Linked DNA regions of Homo sapiens: all the other regions are linked to region 2. Evidence: promoter capture Hi-C in 16 types of primary human blood cells and fetal thymus (Javierre and others, 2016). All regions are on one chromosome and are shown on one strand. Each heading gives the region's core, a stretch centred on a gene start or on the middle of the fragment in contact. The rest is flanking DNA. Distances are from core to core; before and after follow the strand shown. Region 1 has its middle 25 kb from the start of PCSK6. Region 2 holds the start of SELENOS (selenoprotein S). Region 3 overlaps LRRK1 (leucine rich repeat kinase 1). Region 4 overlaps LRRK1-AS1 (LRRK1 antisense RNA 1). Region 5 overlaps LRRK1-AS1 (LRRK1 antisense RNA 1). Region 6 overlaps PCSK6 (proprotein convertase subtilisin/kexin type 6). Region 7 overlaps LRRK1 (leucine rich repeat kinase 1).

Region 1 (3,217 bases), core at 121-2,620, 240 kb after region 2:
AAGACACCCTAGTGTGCTTCTAATCTTAGAAGAAAAGCATTCAAGTTTTTTTTTCATTCAAAAGATCATTTTTATTAGAGGTACAAAGTCGTAATCATAAAAGAAATCTTGTGAGGGAGTGGTGACTTTATTTGATACAACACAATGTACTGAAACATGGTTGCTGCTTTTCCTTTTTTAAAAAAATAGACTTATTTTTTAGGAAGTTTTTGGTTCACAGACAAAATTGAGCAGAAAATATAGAGACTACCCATATACCTGCCCCCACACCACACACAGTCTCCTCCATTATCAACAGCCCCCACCATGGTGGTACATTTGTCACAATCCATGAACCTGCATTGACACATCATTATCACCGAAAGTCCATAGTTTACATTAGGATTCACCCCTGTACATTCTGTGGGCTTAGACATGTGTATGATGACGTGTATCTATCATTATAAAATCATACAGAGTAGCTTCACCATCCTAAAAATCCTCTTTTCTCATATTCGTCCCTCTCTCCCCGAACTGCTGGCAACCACTGATCTTTTTGACGGTCTCCATAGTTTTGCTTTTTCCAGAATGTCATATATTTAGAATCATACAGTATGCAGCTTTTCCAGATCGTCTTCTTTCACTTGGTAACATGCATCCAAGTTTCCTTCGGTCAGGTGTGGTGGCTTGCATCTGTCATCCCAGCTACTCAGGAGGTTGAGGCAGGAGAGTCACATGAGACCAGGAGTTTGAGACCAGGCCAGGCAACATAGCAAGACCCCATTTCTAAATAAATAAATAAATAAATAAATAAATAAATAAGATTAGCTGGGCATGGCGGCCCGTGTCTGTAGTTGCAACTACTCAGGAGGCCGAGGTGGGAGGACTGCTTGAGCTTAGGAATTCAAGGCTGCAAAAAGCCATGATTGCACCACTGCACTCCAGTGGGGTGACAGAGTGAGACGCTGTCAAAAAAAAAAAAAAAAAAAAAAGAGGTTCTGATAGCTTGGTAACTCATTTCTTTTTAGTGCTGAATAATATTCCATTGTATAATGTACCACAGTTTATTTGTCCATTCACCTACCGAGGGACGTCTTGGTTGCTTCTAACTTGGGAATTATGAATAAAGCCGCTATGAACTTGTGCACAGGTTTTTATATCAGCATAAGTATTTTCAGCTCATTTGAGTACCTGCCCAGAAGTGAAATTGCTGAATTATGTGGTAAGAATGTGGTTAGTTTGTAAGAAACTGCCAAATTACCTTCCAAAATGGCTGTACCGTTTTGCATTTCCACCAGCAGTGAGCGAGGTCCTCTTGCTCTGCATCCTCGGCAGTGTTTGGTGGCGTCAGTGCCCTGGATCTGCGCCACTCTTCTAGGTGTGCAGTGCTATCTTCTTGTGGTTTCGAACAGTCTGTTTTCACCATGAAGTATGATGTTCTAGTTTGCTGAGAGTTTTTATCAGGAATTAAAGTCGGATTTTGTTAAATACTTTTCCTACATCTATGGAGATGGTCAAGTGATTTTTCTTTTGTAGTTTGCTAATATGATTAATTCTTTTTCTTTTTCTTTCTTTTTTTTTTTTTTTGAGACAGGGTCTCACTCTGTCTCCCAGACTGGAGTGCAGCGCTGTGATCATGGCTCACTGCAGCCTTGACCTCCCAGGTTCAAGCAATCATTTCACCTCAGCCTCCTGAGTAGCTGGGACTACAGGCACAAGCCTCCACACCCAGTCAATTTTTTTTTTTTTTAATTTTTGGTAGAGACGAGGTGTCGCTATGTTGCCAAGGCTGGTCTCAAACTCCTAGGCTCAAGTGATCCTACCACCTCAGCCTCCCAAAGTGCTGGAATTACAGGCTTGAGCCACTGTCCCTGGCCACATCAATTGATTTTCAAATGTTAAACCAATCTTGCATTTCTGGGTTAAACCCTACTTGGTAATGAAGTATTTTCACTCTATTTCTTGTTAGATTCAGCTTGTTAAGTTTCATTAAGAAATTTTGCATCTATGCTCATGACAGGTATTTGCTTGTCTTTTTCTGATTTTGGTAACAGGGTAATCCTGGCTCCATAGAATGAGTTGGTATTCTGTCCTCTTTGATTTCCTGAAAGAGTTTGTGTGGAGCTGGTATTATTTATTCCCTAAAATGTATGGTAGAATTCACTAGGAAAGTCATGTAGAGCTGGAGTTTTCTTTCAGGAAAGGTTTTTACTTGCAAATTTTATTTTTTAATAGATATAGGCCTATTCAGATTTTTTTATTGTGATAAGATATTCTTAACACAAAATTACCATTTAAGTGTATAATTCAGTGACATTAAGTACATTCACAATGTTCATTACCACTATTCCCAGAACTTAAAAAAATTATTCCAAACAGAAATTCTGTATTCATTAAACAATATCTCCCTCCTCCCAGCCCCTAGTGACCTCTGTTCCTCTGTATAAATTTGTCTATTCTAGGTACCTCATATAATTGGAACCATACCATATTTGTCCTTTTGTGTCTGGCTTACTTAGCATAAAGTTTTCAAGGTTTATCCACGTTGCGGCATGTATCCAAACTTTATTCCTTTTTATGGATCTTGATTTCTTTTTGGGTGAGCTTTGATAGCTTGTGTCATTCAAGAAATCTGTCTAAGTTGCTGAATTTATTGGCATAATGTTATCTATAATATTTTCTTATCTTCCTTTTCATATCTGTAGAGTCTGTAATGATGTCACATCTCATTCTTGTTGATAGTTTGTATCTTCTCTCTTTTTTCTGATTTTCCTGTCAAGAAGCTTATCAATTTTAATGATTTTATCAAATAGTAAAGTTGGTTTCCTTGATTTTTATATTGTATTTCTGTTTTCTATTTTATTTATTTATACTCTTACCTTGTTTCCTTTCTTCTGCTTTAAGTTTAATAGTTTAATTTGCTCCTATTTTTTCTTATGTTAGAAACTGAAGTTGCATATATAAAACCTTTCTTTTTTTCTAATATGAGCCTGTAGGACTATATATTTTCCTCTGCATACTGCTTTAGCTGCATCCCACGCATTTTGGTAGGCTGAATTTTCATTTTGATTTAGTTCTCTTTCGATTTAGTTCTCTTTTGATTTCTTTCTGATCCATGAATTATTTTTAAACGTATTACTTAAATTCCAAATATTTGGGGGGATATTCAGATACTTTTGCAATACTAACCTTTAATTTACTTCCACTGTGGTCAGAGAACACTTTTTTAATTTCAAGT
Region 2 (3,127 bases), core at 217-2,716:
TCAAGCGATTTCTCCTGCCTCAGCCACCCTAATAGCTGGGATTACAGGTGCCCGTCACCACGCCCCACTAATATTTGTATTTTTAGTAGAGACAGGGTTTCACCATGTTGGCCAGGCTGTTCTCGAACCCCTGACCTCAAGTCATCCTCCTGCCTCGGCTTCCCAAAGTGCTGGGATTACAGGTGTGAGCCACCGCGCCCCACCGAGAACCATATACTTCCTACTTTTTTTTTTTTTTTTTTTTTAAAGACAAGGTCTCAATCAATTGCCCAGGCTGGAGTGTAGTGTGGCCCGAGCATAGCCCACTGCAGCTTTGACTCCCTGGACTCAAGTGATTATCCCGCCTCAGCCTCCTGAGCAGCTGGGACTACAGGTGCGTGCCGCCACTCCCGGCTATTTTTTTTTTTTTTAAATAGAGACAGGGTCTTCCTGTGTGGCCCCTCTTACTTTTACTAAGAGACTAACTCTTAATATAAAGGAGGTGCAAAACCACCGCTTTCATTTCGGTTATCAGGCACTAACCCACAGCAGCCGCAGCTCGGTCCAGCTGCCTCTGCCTCAAGGCTCTTAGCCGGGCGGAAAGCTTCTGAAAGACCACGTAGAGAAGGATGCAGCTGAAGACGATGTACCAGCCATAGGTGGCCAGCAGGGAGCCCACTGAAAAGAAAAACAGTTTTCAAAAAACTAAAAATGACACTACTAGTTGACCTTTCCATAAGACTCAACAAACACAAAGTGTAACTCCTGCCCTCAAAGCCTTCATGGTCTAGGCTGAGGAAAAAGCCTCCTAAGTAGATCGTTAAAACACGAACTCAAGAAGTGCGACAATTCAGGGATCACTGAGAAGTGAGACTTCCCAACCATCTGGGGAGTCGGGGGCAGTTAGAGTGTGGAGGGCACAGCAACTGGGTTTTGAAGAATGAAGAGCAACTAATCTGAATCAGGAAGGCAAAGGCCTTTCAGAGCCACATAGAAAGGGGTGACAGCGCGGGGAGTCAGGAGTGTGTATGGGGCTGTGTGGGACGGGTCCCAGAGGCAAACGCCAACGGCCGAGTGACCCCAGTAACTACCACAGGAAGGGCTTGGTTCGCAAAAAAGACTTGCGCAAACAAGGGACAGCCGAGCCGCCCAGGGAAGTGCGGCTCCCGAGAAGCCTCCGCGCAAGGTCCGGGCCTGCTGCCCAAGGTCCGCGTAAGCGCCAACGCCCGACCGTTCCCAGGCCTCCCAGGCTCCGGCGCCCGGTGCAGCGGCGGACGACCCACCCATCATGGCTGCGCGTCGCAAAAGTGGCGGCGCGCGCCCGGCTGCCCCGCAACGACTCACCCGTGGTGTGCAGGAAGCGCAGCCCCTCGGTCTCCAGGGCCGGCCGCGCGGACAGAGACTCCTCTTGGCGTTCCATGACCGCCGCCGCCGCCGCCGCCCAGCCCTGCCGCCGCGCCTCCAGCCGGGCGCTTCCGGTGCGCTCCTACGCACACGTGGCGCGCCCGGACGCGGTCGTGGTCCCGGCCAATCGCAGGCCGACCCCGCCCCGTCGCTGGGCCAAACGCAGGGGGGCGTGGCCGAGGGGCGTGGCGGGGGAGAAATCCCGGCTACGCTCGCCGGGGCCGGGACAGCGCGTGTGGGAACGTTCTGTGCTATCTCTTGGCTTGAGTCGGGGGTGGAGGACGGACCTCGTTCACGGATTTCTTACCGAATTTCTACTTTCTTTTTTTTTTCTAATTGGACACTGAAGCCAAGGAAGTCAGTGGTCGCCCGGAAGCAGGATTTGCACCCACATCCTTGCCCGGGGCACATTGGACAACAGGGCTCAGTTGGTTGACGACTCCCAGCATTTGAGGGTTGCAGCCAACGTCCACCCCAAGTGAAGACACGAAATGTGAGCAGCCTCCTGCTCCTGCTGCTGGTGATACCTTTCAGGCCAAGAAAGTCCCCACCGATCCTCAAGGTTCTTTCTCCAAAATCAAAGCCTTTTAGGAAAGAACGATCATAGTAACTGCTCTAACCTGTGTTGAATTATACTGTATCACCACAAGACACGATCACAGAGTTACTTATAATAGTGTCCTGGCTGTGTTCCTCTGCCTGCAACGCCGTCCCGCACCCTCTTCCACCACTCAAACGTCACCACCTTTATGGTGACCATAACCATCCTATTTGAAATGTGACCTTGGGTTTTTCTGGAGCATTTGAAGTGCACATACCTAGCTGTGTTTCAAAAGAAGGGTTGGGAATTGGGAATAGAACTGAAAAAATAATGAATAGGTGACAACATCCGAGTGCTGCGTCACCACTGTCGCCAGGAGCAGTGTGGGGAAGGCAAACCATGACATGAAGCGTGAACGCAATCAGTGTTTCTTCAATGCAGGTTTGCCAAGAAGTTCCTCAAGGGGGACAGCTGCAGGGATTTGAGCACTGACCTCATCAAGCTTTCCCAGCAGTGTGTTCAGAAAGCAATAAAGGGGACCTGGCATTCATGAGCCATAGCAAAGAGAAGCCTGAAAGCTCTTCTTCCCTGTTGGCCACCTTGAAAATGGACTCCTCAGATGAACCGAGGACTCTGGATGTTATCCATAAAGGCTGTGAAGATAGCTTATCGATTTAATGAGGAATTTTAGGAGGGAGAATTTCCTTCTTCATGTTTGCCTTTCCGTTGTAAAAGGTGATGAACCATCACCACTCTTTGCTTTGCTACAGATGATTTCTCACTTGCTCTGGCATCTTGCAGGAACATTTATGTGCTAAATTGAATGACTTCTATGGAATTAGTTGCAATTCTCAGTCCCAGATTAGCTTTAAATCCGCCTTACATCTAAATACTGATAAACTAGACAGGATGAGCAGGGTTGCCTCAACTATTTTGTTAGGCTGTGAAGGACATTAGGTATACCGTACTGGGGTCATAGTTCATGGAAAAAAATGGTTAGGGCCTCACTTTTCTCTCAGGAAACTCATACCAAAACAGTTTCAATCAATGCTTGGGAGCAGTTTTATTTTTATACAGTAACTTAACAGGATGGTTTAACACAAGAGTTCCCCATCTTGACAAGGTGTCAGATGAAGACTTGAGAGCTTCAAGAATGTTGCAGTGGGCCAGGAGTGGTGGCTCTTGCCTGTAATCCTATTGCAC
Region 3 (2,500 bases), core at 1-2,500, 210 kb before region 2:
AGTACCTGTCTGTGGGTGGGGACCCCCAGGATTATGCCAGTCTCCTCTGTGAAGGTATGCTGGGCAGGGTGGCCTGTCCGGGACATGGTCTACATGGTTGCAGTGATGTGAGGCTGGCGCCAGCTGCAGCTCCCCACAGTGTTTACACCCCGCACTTTGACTACCGAGCCCCACACGGTAAATCTCCCCTACGAAAAGTCCTCAGTTCAAATGTGTGTGTGTGTGTGTGTGTGTGTGTGTGTGTGTGTGTGTGTACTTTGGAGCTCTTCCATTTCACACTAGGCCTGTTTCCCTGCAGCATGAGTTATCCCCCATCCCTGGGCAAGTGGGTTTTTATTTCATCTGGAGCATAAGAGGGTGGAGAAACACCAGTCAGCTTGCTTCTCCCAAAGCAGGACAATGACAAGGACATCCTTGGCAGTCGCACTCCCTTGCCTGCCAGCTTTGAACTTTTGCAGTGAGTCCTGGGCCAGTGACCCTTACTCTGTAAGTGGTTCTGGAAGCAAGATCTGGATCTGCTCCTGAGCTCTGGCAGAGCCTGTGGGTAGAAGCCTTGAACTGATGGAGTTCCCAGCTTGCAGGTCGGGCTTCTGGAGGAAATGGGTGTGCAGCACCCAGGTTAGGACCTTGGCATACCTGCCATTAATGTCCTAACGTTTAGCTGTTGTTTTTCTCCTATTCATCCCTAAAGCCAGATTTTACCTCTTTCTCGCTAGAGGGAGGCTCCTCCCCTAAGGGGAGGTCCTGGCAAGGCCACGCGGAGTGAGAGGTCCCTGGACATCCCAGTTTGCAGGAGCACCTCAGTGCCACGCAGGCCGCACACACGGGACACAGAGGGAGGAAAGGCAATTAGTATGTGCTTGGGGTGGGGCACCACCAGGGCAGGGAGGCCACACTGTGGCCCAAAAGGAAACCTGTAGCACACACCCACCGATCCTGCAAAACTGTCCACAGTTTCAAAAAATGTATATAGTGATGACTTTGGGGCAGTAGGTTTTCCATTTAATATATGATCCTGTATTTCCTAAGCCTGTAGAAACAGAATGAGAGAAGAATCTTACTGAGCTTAGTGGCAAGGGAGTTGAGTTAAACTCGGTCATGAGCCATTCACAAGCAGAAATTTGGGTCAGTGGTGTTTTCTGGACGCTTTGGGAGCTGAGTCAAGGATGCATGATCTGATTGCCTCTGTGGCCTTCCAGGGAGTCTGACTCTTACAGACAAAGCCCATGGACGCGAACTCATGCCCACAGCCCGTCTTTGGACTTTATAAAGCCTAAGCCCACAGGCTGGCCACTGGGGAGAAGTGGTGCATCTCAGCACACCCCAGAGAGGGCTGGCAAGCAGACACACTCCCCTGCCCTTAGCCAGCTCCGCCTTCCTCAGAAGGCACAGGGGGAGGGTCCCAACCCCACCCGAGTGGGAACCCCTGTGAGTTTCCTCAGACCCCCTTCTCTCTGCAGGGTGCTGGTGGATGCTGCCGTGGTGGCAAAGGACACTGTTGTGTGCACCTTTGAAAATGAAAACACAGAGTGGTGCCTGGCCGTCTGGAGGGGCTGGGGCGCCAGGGAGTTCGACATTTTCTACCAGTCCTACGAGGAGCTGGGCCGGCTGGAGGCTTGCACTCGCAAGAGAAGGTAATTCCTGTGGAATGACTGTCACACATCAGAGCTGGCTGGCCCGGGGCTGCAGCCTGACCCCTCTGCCATCGGCCTCTAGTTCTCCAAGGACCTAGAAGACAGATGGAGTTCTCCCCTGAACTCCTTGCTGCTAAGAAGTGCTGAGAAGTTACTCGCCTGGCGGTGGCTCCAGGGTTCTCTGGTTCTCTGGAGCAGAGTTCTCTGAATACCCCATCCCCCAACTGCTGATTTTACAGCCCCAGGGAAGACAGTGGTATCAGGCTGGGAGCGGCCTCCTCTGGCCTCCCCCATCAGTTTGCAGGAGCAGGGGTGCAGGATCCTGTTCTGAGCTGGGTCAAACAAAGCAGGGCCGGGCCTTCCTGCCATCCCCAGGTCTCAGATGGAATTACACTAGAGGCCCTCCGCTGGGAAGCACTTGAGGTAGGGCAGGAGGGGGGCTGTGACCCCTGCCCTTTCCCCGCCAGAGACCTCAGGCTCTCAGCACATTCCACAGGCTCCTGAGTCCCCGAGGCCTGGGCCAGCTTGGGCAAGCCAAGATCAGATGTCTCTGTGTTCGGGAAGGTCTCCGTGTGGGAAAGCCCTTGGGGGATCCCGGGTGAGGAGTGTTGCCCCATCCAGAGAATGAATGAGTTCCTTTAAGTGCCACCGCCAGCAAGCCCAGAGGCACACAGTCCGAGTGCACCCGCTTAGCCTTTACATTCCTCTCCACCGACAAAAGGAAGGGGAAACTCAATCAGCAGGACTTCAGAAAGGGCCTTGTGTTTATAGCTTTGTCAAGTAAATTTGGACGCAGCTGGAGCACAGGCCCTGTTTGTTTGCACATAATAATCTTGTTTATCACTTTAAAAAATTCAGTAATATCT
Region 4 (3,376 bases), core at 355-2,854, 180 kb before region 2:
GACCCTATCTCAAAAAAAAAAAAAAAAGTCTATTAATGTATTTGGAGAAATAAAGATCAGGCCACTGTTAAAAAAAAAAAGGAACCAACTAAAGACCTTAACATATGATTGTTAAACATATGATTGTTAAAAGGAAAACTCAAGAAAGCCAAGGAGAAAAGTGGAGCCCCCTGAAGAGCAAGTTTCTGGAGTTTGAAGCCAAAGTCCTGTTCAGAATGTAGCACACAAGGAAAACAGCACGAAAACTGTGAAGGAAATGTGAAGGTGCATGGAGGATAGATGCAGAAGTTGCAAAACCATCTAATAGAAATTCCAAAAACAGTGGGTTAGAATTAGAAAACACTAAGAGAAACAGTAGACAAGAAATGTATTGCAACCTATTCCCCAAAAGCTTAAAAAGAGAAAGCTTGGATAGTTCAATAGCCAAAGAATTTGCATAGACAATAAAAGACTAAACTAGAAGACCGAACATTTTTTTAAATGCCTGGGCCCAGCTGTTTTTATAGACTTTTATTTATTTATTTATTTGAGATGGAGTCTTGCTCTGTTGCCCAGGCTGGAGTACAGTGGAATGATCTTGGCTCACTGCAACCTCCACCTCCCAGGTTCAAGCAATTCTCTGCCTCAGCCTCCCAAGTAGCTGGGATTACAGGCGCCTGCTGCCAAGCCTGGCTAATTGTTTTGTATTTTTAGTAGAGACAGGGTTTCACCATCTTGACCGGCCTGGTCTTGAACTCCTGGCCTCATGATCCACCCACCTTCGCCTCCCAAAGTGCTGAGATTACAGGCGTGAGCCACAGCACCCGGGACACTTTTTGCTTAACCTTCAAAGATAGGTAATTATCATGTTAGGTAAACTACTTTGGAGCATACAACAATCTAGAAAGTGAATTAACGTATTTTGCAGGATAATATAAGGTTAATTCCAAAACGAAAAGAGAGCACACTAATGATCATGTATGCAAATATTTTAATATATTAGCAAATCAAATCAAGTAGCATAGTAAAGGAATAACCCATCATGACCAAGTAGCATTTAATCCCAGGTAAGCAAGACTTGCTTGACAGTAAGACTCACTACGTTAGCTTAGTAGAGTAGGAAAAACTAGATGACCCGAACCTCTCAATAGATAGAGGCAGAGTAGGAGAAGAGAACATTTTAGCTGTTGTTTCCTTCACTTGATTAGGGCATTTTCTGCAGACCCACAGCAAAGATCCCATCTACTGATGAAGCCAAGACCCACAGCAAAGATCCCATCTACTGATGAAGCCAAGACCCACAGCAAAGATCCCATCTACTGATGAAGCAAAGACCCACAGCAAAGATCCCATCTGCCGATGAAGCAAAGACCCACAGCAAAGATCCCATCTACCGATGAAGCAAAGACCCACAGCAAAGATCCCATCTACCGATGAAGCCAAGACCCACAGCAAAGATCCCATCTACCGATGAAGCAAAGACCCACAACAAAGATCCCATCTACTGATGAATCCAAGACCCACAGCAAAGATCCCATCTACTGATGAAGCCAAGACCCACAGCAAAGATCCCATCTACTGATGAAGCAAAGACCCACAGCAAAGATCCCATCTGCTGATGAAGCAAAGACCCACAGCAAAGATCCCATCTACCGATGAAGCAAAGACCCACAGCAAAGATCCCATCTACCGAAGAAGCCAAGACCCACAGCAAAGATCCCATCTACTGATGAAGCCAAGACCCACAGCAAAGATCCCATCTACAGATGAAGCAAAGACCCACAGCAAAGATCCCATCTACTGATGAAGCCAAGACCCACAGCAAAGATCCCATCTGCTGATGAAGCAAAGACCCACAGCAAAGATCCCATCTGCTGATGAAGCAAAGACCCACAGCAAAGATCCCATCTGCTGATGAAGCAAAGACCCACAGCAAAGATCCCATCTACAGATGAAGCAAAGACCCACAGCAAAGATCCCATCTACAGATGAAGCCTATGAAACCTAGTTACTAAAGGCACCACTTTTTGCCCACCTGATTGTGAACATTTTGAAAGACTAATAATATCAAATGTTAGTGAGGGTGTACAGAAATTTCACCTCTCATGCACCGCCAAAGGAAGGTTAGGTAAACAGGAAAGTCGCCTTACTGAGCAATTTGATAACAGAAAAAACAAGAATGAAATTCTGTCGTGGATGAGCCTGGCACAGAAAGACAAATACCACACGGTCTCGCCCACATGTGGAAGCTGAAACAGTGGGTCTCATGGAAGAAGAAAACAGGAAAGTGGTTACCAGAGGCAGGGAAGGGTAGGAGGAGAGGGAGGATGGGGAGAAGTTGGTTAATGGATACAAAATTACAGCTGGCTAAGAGGAATGAGTTCTAGCGTTCTAGAGCAGCCCTCCCCAGCCTTTTTTGGCACCAGGCACTGGTTTTGTGGAAGACCATTTTTCCGCATCCCCCAGAGTTGGAGGTATAGTTTTGGGATGATTCAAGCGCATTTCAATTATTGTGCACTTATTTCTATTATTATTACATGGGACTATGTGATGAAATATTTATACAACTCATCATATTGTAGAATCAGTGGGAGCCCTGAGCTTGTTTTCCTGCAACTAGACGGTCCCTTCTGGGGGTGATGGGAGACAGTGACGGATCATCAGGCATTAGATTCTCATAAGGAGCGTGCACCCTAGATCCCTCACCTGCGCGGTTCACGATAGGGTTTGTGCTCCTATGAGAATCTAACACCGCTGCTGATCTGACGGGAGGTGGAGCTCAGGCGGTCATGTGAGTGATGGGGAGCAGCTGTAAATACAGATGAAGCTTCGCTCGCTCCACTGCCTCTCACCTTCCGCTGTGCAGCCCGGTTCCTAACAGGCCACAGACCAGGACCAGTCTGTGGCCGGGGGGTTGGGGACCCTATTCTATAGTACTGTAGGATGACTACAGGTAACAATTTCTTTTATTATATATTTTCAAATGGCTTGAAGAGAAGAATTTAAATGTTTCCAACACAAGGAAATGATAAGTGTTTGAGGTGACAGATATATTAATTACCCGAATACGATCACCACACATCGTATAAATGTATCAGAATATCACACCATACCCTACAAATACATACAATTATGTGTCAATTAAAAATAATGAAAAAAAGGCCAGGCGCAGTGGCTCACACCTGTAATCCCAGCACTTTGAGAGGCCGAGGCAGGCAGATGACTTGAGGCCAGGAGTTTGAGACCAGCCTGGCTAACATGGCAAAAACCCATCTCTACTGAGAATACAAAAATTAGCCGGCGTGGTGGTGCCTACCTGTAATCCCAGCTACTCGGGAGGCTGAGCCAGGAGAATCGCTTGAACCCAGGAGGCAGAGGTTGCAGTGAGCCAAGATCA
Region 5 (3,269 bases), core at 389-2,888, 150 kb before region 2:
GAAACCAAATGCAGAAGTCACCTATTATATGATTTCACTTCTATTAAATTCTGAGAATAGGCAAATCCATGAAGACATAGACTAGTGGCTGCCCAGGGCTGAGGGAAGTGAAGAGTGACTGCTCGTGGTATGGGGTTTATTTTTCAGGTGACAAAGATATTCTAGAATTAGATAGCAGTGAAAGCTGTACAACCTTGTGAGTACGGTTAAAGGAAAAAGAAAAAGCAAACACTGAATTGTATACTTTAAAACAGTGAATTTTATGGTATATCAATTATATTTCAGTAAATGAGACAAAACATCTGCAAAAGATAAAACTTGGGCAACTACTATATTTTCTCTAATATTTAATTTTCTTGATTTGTTCCTTAGTTTTAAATTAATAATTTAAAAAGAACATGTTTCCAATTTTAAATATATCATTCCAATGTAGTAAAATATTTCATATATGAACTAAAATGTCCCCTCACCTTGCAGTTTGTGCTCTTGTACTGTTTTTTGGGGTTGTTAGTTTGTTTTTGAGACTGAGTCTCACACTGTCACCCAGGCTGGAGTGCAGTGGCGCGATCTCGGCTCACTGCAACCTCTGCCTCCTGAGTTCAAGGGATTCTCCTGCCTCAGACTCCCGAGTAGCTGGGATTACAGGCGGCTGCCACCACGCCCAGCTAATTTTTTGTATTTTTAGTAGAGACAGGGTTTCACCATGTTGGTCTGGCTGGTCTTGAACTCCTGACCTTGTGATCCGCCCACTTCGGCCTTCCAAAGTGCTGGGATTACCGGCAGGCATGAGCCACCGCTCCTGGCCTCTTATACTGTTTTAAATGTTAAACACAAACAAGACTTCAATGGTCACACAGAATACAGAATTGAAGTAACTTAAGTTCCGAATCTTCCTCTTTCCGATCACTGTGCTATTGTTGCTTCGTCAAATCTGCTGTTTAAATGTAGGAATTCACAGCACCCTGGGGCACTGGAGACGTGAATGATGTCCAAAGTGGCTTCAGACGGCTCACAACTTACTTTTGAAAAGCACATTTCTGGACCGACTTTATACCTGGGAGTTCTGAAATTAACTTTCACTTGGAATACAAAGCTTATCAAAGGATAATAAATAAAATCATGTTGATTTGAAGTATATATATATATACATAAACCCTCACAATTGTTTAGAATTTAGATCAACAAAATATTTTCCCTGGCAGGAGTATTTAATCATGCCTGGTAATTAGAAAAACAAACAACAGCAACAAAAACACCAGTCGTCTGACTTAGTAGATTTTATTATTGTGACTTCAGTGACAGTGTGTCACCTCGCTGCCTGAACCCAGGCCCACAGCTCCCACTACCCCGCCCTCACTTTCTATTTCCCTAGCGCTTTGAAGATTCCATTTTACCCACCGCAGGAGAACATTATGAGGCTAGGTAATATAATCCCCATTTGACAGATGAGAAAGCAGGGGGCCCAGAGAGGCTTATCCAAGGGCCAGCAGGAGGGGACAGAGCCTAGAAGCTGGTTCTGCAGGGCTCAGCTCCCACTTCTCAGGGCACAGTCCCGACTAGCCCCTCTTATTAGTGACCGTGGGTGGGTCTACTCCCCACAGTTCCGGCTGCCAGACTTACCCAGGCTGTGCCTCATCCTCGCAGTACCTACCTGCTCTCAGCTTGGAAAGAACCTGGAAATTCATTCACACCCAGGTTCTGAGGGCTGCTAACAGGCTTCTTTCCCAAGAGGTAATTGCCTTTATCAAAGAGGGTGCTCTTTAATGAGCTGAAAGAATGCCTCTGCAAGTCGGGCCTCCTCCCTAGGCTGCTGGGATCACTGGTACACATCTGTTCTCCCCCATCTCACCTCAGGAGTAGTTTGCTCCCCAGGGAGGAGCCCTGCCTGAGAGTAAATCCAAAGAGACGTCCCACAGTTAACTCAGCCTCAAAAGCATTTGGAGTTGCAAACTAAATGACATAGTCTCATGACTTGTGTCTGATTCTGTGGATCTAAGAAAATCCAGTTTCTCCCTAACTAACGCCAGCATCCTACAGCCTAGCCTCTGCCTGGTGAACACAGACAGCCTTGCCGGGGCCTGGCAGAAGGAGTGCTAAGAGGACAGGGCCTCACAGACCCTAGAAGTGGGTCTCACCCTTCTCAGCTCACTCAGATGCTTTGTCTCCAGAGTTCTCAGATTTACAAAGCTTAATGAGTGCCAATTTACTCATTATTGTCCTCCCAGGCCTCACAACGCATTAAAATCCTTCTGCACAGACAGATTAGGAGACAAGCCTAAGGAAAACGTACATCTGCTTTAAAAAAAAAAAAATGCAGTTTCAGGTTCCACTTTACATCAGCCAGGGTTTAGTTACAGGAAACAGAAACCACTCTAACAATTTTAAGCAAAAAGGGGTTTAGACAGGAAATTAGGGGCTTACCGTTTTATTGAGAGGCATGGGCCAGGCCTATTGGCGTGGTGCCCGGAAAAAGGCCTGGGGACCAGCCGGCTGGGCTCTGCTAGCCTGACTCCACTCAGCCAGGTGGGGGTCGGGAGGCTCCCAGTGCTGTACCATACCTGCCTCTTGACCCCACAAAGGGACTGAATGGACCCTGGAACGCTGCCACAGGAAAAACAACCACCACAACTTTGCTCGCCAGCAGAAACGGCCAAAAGCAGCAGGAGGAGAGTCTTGGCCTCTGAATCATAGTGGTGTGCGAAGAATTGGCAGGACTATGGATGTGCTGGAGCTGGCTCAGCCTAGTGACAGCCAACGGTGCACGGCAATTCCAATTCCAGGTCCAGGGACACCAGGGGATAGCAAGATTGAAATTGACCACAGTGGATATATTTACACCATGGAAATCAGCAAGCACTAACAGCCGGGTTGCTTTTGTTTTGTGTTGTTTTTTTGTTTTTTTTTGAGAGCTGGTTGTTAAACATTGACCACCGGGCATAACCCATTTCACATTTAGAACTCTAGCGGCAAGGGAAGCGGGAAAAGCAGTGGCTCACCTTCCAGCCTTTGAAGGAACAGCGAGGAGAGCACACAGAATGCTAGCTGCCAAGCCGTCCTCCATGACACACACTCCTAGGAATGTACCCTGCAGTAAATTTGCACATGTGTGAGGGATGAATGGCTGCTGATGCTGCACTTTGCTAGTAATTACGTGGAAGCAACATTTCTTAACGCAATTGCTCTTGAGCATATGTGAAGTTTATTAACCCTGGAGCTAGGGAATTGGCAAGGGGACAGAAGAGTGGGTTGGTTCAAAGATGGCTTGGAAA
Region 6 (3,332 bases), core at 605-3,104, 180 kb after region 2:
TCTCAGCTTGGGCTGGGCACAGTGGCTCATGCCTGTAATCCCAGCACTTTGGGAGGCCAAGCAGATCACCTGGGGTCGGGATTTCGAGACTAGCCTGGCCAACATGGTGAAACCCCGTCTCTACCAAAAATATAAAAAATTAGCTGGGTGTGGTGGTGCACACCTGTAATCCCAGCTACTTGGGAGGCTGAGGCAGGAGAATCACTTGAACCAGGAGGCGGAGGTTGCAGTGAGCCAAGATCGTGCCACCGCACTCCAGCCTGAGCAACAGAGTGAGATTCCATCTCAAAAATAAATAAATAAATAAAAATAAATAAATAAATAAAAATCTCAACTCAGCAGTTGAGGTCTTGGGCCTTGGAGCCAAGGACTACCCAGATCTGAATCCCAACTCCTCTGTTTAAGTGAAAAGGATCTCTGAGCAAGTTCCTAAATTTCTCTTCAGCTTCCCTTTCCATGCATTGGGATTAGCAGCATTTCCTTGCCCAAGGTTTCTAGGGGGATAAATGAGGCGTGATGCATATGGAATGCTCGGCTCACGGCCTGGCACACAGAGAGCAGCCCCAGCCTCCCAGGGCGCAGGCTGGTCAGCTGGGTTTTTTCATAGTATTTCTTAAAGAAAAGAACAAGGATGCAGCTCCCTTTGTGGGGGGAAGTGCATTGCAATAAAGCTAGTTGCAAAGTTAGAGAAATCCCATTTGCCCTTTGATTTCAATTCTTAAAAATATATAGAGTGCTTCTTTATCAGTGGCCCCTGTGGGGAAGATAATCCCACCTAGACGGAGCCATACAGGGCCAAGGTGAACAGTACAGGGTGCAGGGCAGAGGGGAGCCGAGGAGCTGTGCCGGGGACAGCCCACACACAGGCAGCCCTGGCCACCCCTCTGGGTGTGCAATACCATTCGTGTCTGGCAATCCATTTTCTTGAAACTAACTTATTTCTTATCCATAAAATGAGCCTGCGCTATCTGTCCAATTCCAGACTGAAACATTTTTTAAGTCCAAAACTTCTGATTTTGTAAAACACATTCTGGCCTTATGTCATCTCTTATGCTCACATTCCATCTGATGTTTGCTTACCCCCTACCAGCGCTGACATCTGGTGTCTGCAATACCCTCACAGATGGTTGCCCGTGGTACGTCCCTCCAGAGGTGGAGCTGGGTCCAGCCACGTTTTAGGTGGCTTGCAACAACATGGTCAGACACATTCGTCCTGCTCTCTCAGAGGTCTCCATGGCTGTTCTACTCATGCTGGGCTATCAGGCAAGACACAGTAAAGACCTATGTGACTGCCATGTGCACTATCTCAGCAAACAACCAGCAAGTTCACCCAACTATTTCTAGGTTGGTGGGCACAGGTCGTGGTGATAGGGACGTGAAACCCAACTCCAGTGCTGTGTGTTCGCTTTGCCCCAGTGGGTTTGAGTCTCTGCAGCAGACAGCGCACATGTTGAAAGGGGTTTCCGCAAGGCTTTGAGCTGAGGCATAAACCCAAATGCCGTAGAGACCCGAGCTGGGCAATGTGGCCCGGGCTATACACAGTCACTGGACCCCCGGGCTGTACACAGTCACTGGACCCCCACAGGACCCGGCTTCTTAGGAGGGCCCTTGGTACAGACTCCAGCAAGGCTCCTGACTGTTGTTTGCTCACCATTTACAGACCATCGTCTGTCTCCAGGGACTGTGCCTCACTCTCCCTTTCACCATGTGTATCTTCTCCAGCGCAAACAGACCCCAGCACCCGAAGCGCGACTGACGGTCCCAAAGGCTCCACATACCCAGCAGATTGGCTCCTCGCTCCTTCCGAAGACTCCCACTCTGCTCTGTTTCTCCCCAGCGGCAACCACAGACACAAACTCTGTCAATCATTCACGCTCTCTGCGACGCGTCTAATTACTCACAATGCCACCTCTCTAACCTCTTTCTTGAATCCAGGCTAAATTTAGCAGTTTTGGGTATACCTCTGTCAGCTTCTACCTAATTCCTTCACATCCATCTCACTTGGAAAAAACAAACTGCCTTCCATTTCATTTAACCACCCCGACATCCCGCAAGCATGCTGGATGGGCCTGGATTTTACTACTGACAGCTGTAGGACTGTGGTTCACGAGCCACGTGTTCAGAGAGAAGTGGCGTGTGTGTAGCTTCTCTCAGCCAAGGGAGAAAGGCTTCCGGACAGAAGAGAAACCCTCTCCAGGCCACCTCTCCTCTCCCAGCCTCACTGCTAGCTCCGCCCACTGAGCCCTTGGGAATCCCTATTATATACAAACATCTATTTTGAAGCCAAAACAAGGGAGAAACTCCTCTGCACCTTTGGTGCTTCCTCACACACCCTTGGCTTAGCTGAAAGCCCCTACGTGCCTGCACAGGGAATCATGTGTGTGCTGGCTTCCTCCATCCTGTTGCCCAGCTGTAAGTGTCCAGGCTCTCCCTTTTACTTCCTAGAAACATCCTGGTTGCACAATAAATTCTGTGGCCACAGTAATCCTACCAGGAAAGGACAAATCCAGGCCCACCCAGTTCTCCCGGCTTGCTCCGCGTCTCCTCTCCCTAAGTCCACATCACCTGCTGCCACCATTCCCGTCCCCCCACCCTAAGTCCACACCACCCGCTGCCACCGTTCCCGTCCCCCCACCCTAAGTCCACACCACCAGCTGCCACCATTCCCGTCCCCCCCACCATTCCTCACTGCACTATCATTGGGCTCCCCCTCCTCCATCACCATTGTGCCACGCCTCCCAGGTAACTGACTCTGCTGACACCCTGAATCCTGCCCTGTCCCCTCCATCCCAGCAACTATGAACACAGCTCCAGCTGGGCCCCTCACCAACACCCCTCCCTCACCCTGATGCCTCCCACCCATGGTGACCTTGGTGGTTCCTGGTCCTCCATCCATGCGCCTGCCACCGGGTCCTCCAACACCCTCAGTCCCTTTAGGCAGCTGTTTCAACCACGTTCTCCTTAGAACCCTAGACAGCCCACGCCCCCACCTTCTGAAACATTTTTAAGTCGCAAACTTCTGATGTTATAAAATGAGTTCAGGCGTTACATCATCTCTTAGATTCACAGGTCTGTAAAGAAAAATTCACCTCGAGGGAGAGAGATGTGCGTTAGGTTCTGTGAAATTCCATCTGATGTTTGCCACCCACTATCCCAGGCCCCACACTGAACTGAGGGCCTCCTCCCCACACAGCCACATGGCCACCACTATGCCCCTATGAACCGTCACACAGGTCCCTCTCCTGCCCAGGAAGACCCCCCACGATGGCCTGGGCCTACCCAACCCCACCCCTCCGTGTCCTCCTCTCTGTGGGCTCTCTCTCATCTCCCCT
Region 7 (3,386 bases), core at 66-2,565, 240 kb before region 2:
ATCTTTTAAGCACACTTGTGGCTGCACTTAAGGTCCACCCAGATAATGTGGGATCTTTCCCCCATTTCAAAGTCCATAACTTAATCACATCTACAAAGTCTCTATTTCCATGTAAGGTAACAATCACAGTTCTAGGGTTTAGGACCTGGATATTTTGGGGCTCATTATTCAGCATATGACACCCTCCAATTTTGTTCTTCTGTTTCAAGATTATTTTGGATTATTCTAGATCCTTTGCATTTTCATCTAAATTTTAGAATCAGCTTGTCTGATTCTTAAAAAACCGTTGTGATTTTTATGGAGATTACATTGAATCTATAGATCAAAGAAAGCTGACATCTTAGAAATATTGAATCTTCCAATATGAACATGGTATATCTCTCATTTATTTTGGTTTTTAAAAAGTTTCTCTCCACGGTGGTTTGTTTTCAGTATTCAGATTTTCTGCATCTTTTGTTAAATTTGTGTCTACATAATTTATGTTCTCCGATATGGGTAAATGACATATCTTCTAATTTGATTTCCATTTCTTGTTGCTGGTATACAGAAATATAATTTATTTTTAAATATTTACCTTATATCAAAAAACCTTGCTAAATTCACCTATTAGCTCCAGTAGATTTTTCAGGATTTTCTAAGTATGCTTCTTTTTTGAAAAAAAGACAGTTTTACTTTTTTCATTCTAATCTTCACATATTTTTTTGCTCTGTTTGCCTGATTGCATTGGCTCGGATCTCTAGCGAAGGTTTAAATAGAAGGGATGAGAGAAGGCGTCATTCTGTGTGATCTCAGGGGGGAAGCATTCAGTCTTTCACCATCAAGTGTGATGTTTTCTGCAGAGCTTTGTTATCCATGGAAACTTTATCAGATTGAGGAAGTTCCCTTTTATTCCCAGTTTGCTAAAAGCTTTTATCATAAATGGGTACTGAATTTTGTCCCCCAAAAATGCTTGTTCTGCCTCTGTTAATTTTTTTCTTCAGTTATTTTTCTGTTAAATATGTTGATGGATTTTCAAATGTTAAACCAACTTTGTATTCCCAAGATTCATACCAAGTGTTCATGATTTATTATCTTTTTTATCTAATGCTAGATTTCAGTGGCTCCTATTTTGCATAAGAATTTTTTAATCTATGTTCATGAGGGATATTGGTTGGTACTTTGATGAAAAGTCTTTATGGGTTATCAGACATAGGCTGTCTTCATAAAATGAATTGAAAAGATTTTTTTCCTTCTCTATTTTCTTCAAGATTTTGTATAAGATTGGTGTTAGACCTTCCTTAACAGTTTGATAGAATTTATAGCCTGGAGTTTACTTCACAAGAGGATTTTTAATTACAAATTCAATCTATTTATTAGCTATAGGGTTATTAAAATTTTCTATTCTTGTGTCAGTTTTGGTAAGTTATTTTTTTTTCAATAAATTTTTTCATTTCATCTATGGTGCAGAATATATTAATATAAAGATATTTAAAATATCTCTGGAATGTGTAGTGATATGCTCTCTCTCCTGATATTAATAATATGTCTTTTCTCTCATTCTTTCTTGATCAGTCTTGCTAAGTGTTTATCAAATTTTTGGAACCGTTTTAAAGAACGAACCGTTGCCATTGCTGATTTCTTCTATTATTTTTCTCTTTTATTTCATCTATTACTGCTCTTTATTATTGTCTTCCTTCAGCTAACTTTGGGTTTAATTTGTGCTTCTTGTTCTTCCTTCTTAAGGTAGAAGCTTAGGTCATTTATTTTAAGCCTTTCCTATTTTCTATGTAAGCATTTAAAGCCATAACTTTCTAAGCACTGCTTTATATGACAAATACAACTAATTTTGCTATGTTGTGTTTTTATCATTTAGTTCGAAAGATTTTCTAATATATCTTATATTATTTTGGTCAGAGAATATATTCTAAGATTTCTGTATTTTGAAATTCACTGAGACTTATTTTATGGGCCAATGTGTGATCTTTCCCAGTGAAAGTCTGGAGTGCACACAAGAAACGAGTTTTCTGTGTTGTGGCTGTAGTATCTTATAAACCTTAATTAGCTCAGAGTGGTAAACAACGTGTTCAAATCTTCCGTATTCTCACTGATTTTTTTCCTACTCATTCTATCAATTACTAAGAGAGAGATGGTAAAATATCTAATGATAAGTCTACCTCTCTCTCCAGTTCTGACAGGCTTTATTTTATATATTTTGAAGCCATTATTGGTTACATATACACATTGGTGTCATGCCTGTGTAATGAAGTGACCCTTTTTTCATTATACAATGTTTCTCTTTATCACTGGTAATACTCCTTTTCTTGAAGTCTATTTTGTCTGATGTTAAAATAGCCACACCAGCTCTTTTAGTTCTACCTGGGTTTTTTCCCTATTCTTCTAGTAGCAGGTTATGATCTCTATAAAAAAGGAATCTCTTGCTGACAGCACATTATCCAATCTGATAATCTCTGCCTTTTAATAGGAATATTTGATTCATTCACATTTATCATAATTAATTATATGGTTGGGTTTAAGCCTACTATTTCTCTATTTATTTTGTATTTATACCATCTGATTTTGTTATTTTGTTCATTCTTTCCTGCCTTCTTTTGAGTTAAATTTTATTTTAGTATTTTCATGCTCTCTGTTGGGTTTTTGGCCATTCTTCCTGGTACTGTGTTTTAGTGGTTACTCTTGGGATTAGAATATGCATCCTTACCTTATCACAATCTACTTGTAATTAATATTATACCACCTTGAATTAAATGCAAAAACCTTAGCACGATACCAGGACATTACTCCTCCCAGCACCCTCTGTACTCTTGCTGTCATCCACGTTTCTTCTATACAGTAGTCCCCCTTATCCACAGCTGGTGGATTTCCAGACCCCCGTGGATGCCTAAAACTGCGATAGTATTGAGCCCTACATATACTATGCCTTTTCCTTTATCTACATACCTATGATGAAGTTTAATTGTAAACCAGTAAGTGATTAACAACACATAGAAATTAACAACAATAACAACAAAACAGTATAATTATGATATACTGTCACAGAAGTTACATAAATGTGGTCTCTCTCTCTCTCTTTCTAAATATCTTGATATTTTTGGACCAGTAATTGAAACCATGAAAAAGAAACTGCAGATAAGGGAGGACTACAATATATGTAATGAACCCCATAATATAGTGTTATTACTTTTGCTTTGAATAATTAAACAATCAATAGTCTTTTAAGAAATTAAGGGAAAAATGTTGATTGTTTCTGGTGCTCTTCACTTCTTTCCATCTGGTATAATCTCTTTTCATCCTGAAGAATTACGTGTAGCATGTCTTAAAGTCTAAGTCTGATGGAAACAAATTCTCTTTTTTAGACAAGACTTTTGTTTATATGAAAATGTCTTTAT

What was found. The method cuts DNA at HindIII sites, captures the fragments that hold promoters and counts their contacts. A CHiCAGO score of 5 or more calls a contact.
Region 1: a fragment that was not itself captured here is called in contact with the fragment with the promoter of SELENOS in region 2 in 1 of 17 cell types (M0 macrophages); the score reaches 5.5 in M0 macrophages.
Region 3: a fragment that was not itself captured here is called in contact with the fragment with the promoter of SELENOS in region 2 in 6 of 17 cell types (M1 macrophages, M0 macrophages, megakaryocytes and 3 more); the score reaches 8.1 in M1 macrophages.
Region 4: a contact is called between a fragment that was not itself captured here and the fragment with the promoter of SELENOS in region 2, in 6 of 17 cell types (total B cells, erythroblasts, activated CD4 T cells and 3 more). The highest score is 6.9, in total B cells.
Region 5: a fragment that was not itself captured here is called in contact with the fragment with the promoter of SELENOS in region 2 in 7 of 17 cell types (total CD8 T cells, activated CD4 T cells, total B cells and 4 more); the score reaches 8.4 in total CD8 T cells.
Region 6: a contact is called between a fragment that was not itself captured here and the fragment with the promoter of SELENOS in region 2, in 1 of 17 cell types (monocytes). The highest score is 5.5, in monocytes.
Region 7: a fragment that was not itself captured here is called in contact with the fragment with the promoter of SELENOS in region 2 in 8 of 17 cell types (M1 macrophages, M0 macrophages, endothelial precursors and 5 more); the score reaches 12.9 in M1 macrophages.

Annotation. Positions count from the first base shown.
Region 1 is chr15:101,513,199-101,516,415 of GRCh38, forward strand. No RefSeq gene overlaps it. Among named protein-coding and RNA genes, the nearest start is that of PCSK6, 25 kb to the left of the region's middle. The HindIII fragment of the contact is 2,780 bases long and covers 1-2,760 here.
Region 2 is chr15:101,276,019-101,279,145 of GRCh38, forward strand. It overlaps SELENOS (selenoprotein S), which reads right to left and starts at 1,467. Exons shown (of 6, transcript NM_018445.6): 1 at 1,324-1,467; 2 at 523-657. The coding sequence starts at 1,399. RefSeq lists a silencer at 1,343-1,672. The HindIII fragment of the contact is 1,843 bases long and covers 582-2,424 here.
Region 3 is chr15:101,067,211-101,069,710 of GRCh38, forward strand. It overlaps LRRK1 (leucine rich repeat kinase 1), which reads left to right. Exons shown (of 34, transcript NM_024652.6): 34 at 1,461-2,500. The coding sequence ends at 1,638. All of the region lies in intron 1 of LRRK1-AS1 (LRRK1 antisense RNA 1), which reads right to left. Among named protein-coding and RNA genes, the nearest start is that of LRRK1-AS1, 83 kb to the right of the region's middle. RefSeq lists enhancers at 324-989, 1,654-2,319, 2,320-2,500. The HindIII fragment of the contact is 4,126 bases long and covers 1-2,500 here.
Region 4 is chr15:101,094,554-101,097,929 of GRCh38, forward strand. The region is part of intron 1 of LRRK1-AS1 (LRRK1 antisense RNA 1); the gene reads right to left. Among named protein-coding and RNA genes, the nearest start is that of LRRK1-AS1, 56 kb to the right of the region's middle. The HindIII fragment of the contact is 2,400 bases long and covers 405-2,804 here.
Region 5 is chr15:101,125,303-101,128,571 of GRCh38, forward strand. All of the region lies in intron 1 of LRRK1-AS1 (LRRK1 antisense RNA 1), which reads right to left. Among named protein-coding and RNA genes, the nearest start is that of LRRK1-AS1, 25 kb to the right of the region's middle. RefSeq lists a silencer at 1,554-1,603 and enhancers at 1,894-1,943, 2,234-2,343, 2,554-2,723. The HindIII fragment of the contact is 1,094 bases long and covers 1,092-2,185 here.
Region 6 is chr15:101,456,885-101,460,216 of GRCh38, forward strand. The region is part of intron 1 of PCSK6 (proprotein convertase subtilisin/kexin type 6); the gene reads right to left. Among named protein-coding and RNA genes, the nearest start is that of PCSK6, 31 kb to the right of the region's middle. The HindIII fragment of the contact is 6,142 bases long and covers 1-3,332 here.
Region 7 is chr15:101,038,874-101,042,259 of GRCh38, forward strand. The region is part of intron 20 of LRRK1 (leucine rich repeat kinase 1); the gene reads left to right. It also overlaps a transcript of LRRK1-AS1 not described here. Among named protein-coding and RNA genes, the nearest start is that of LRRK1-AS1, 110 kb to the right of the region's middle. The HindIII fragment of the contact is 823 bases long and covers 905-1,727 here.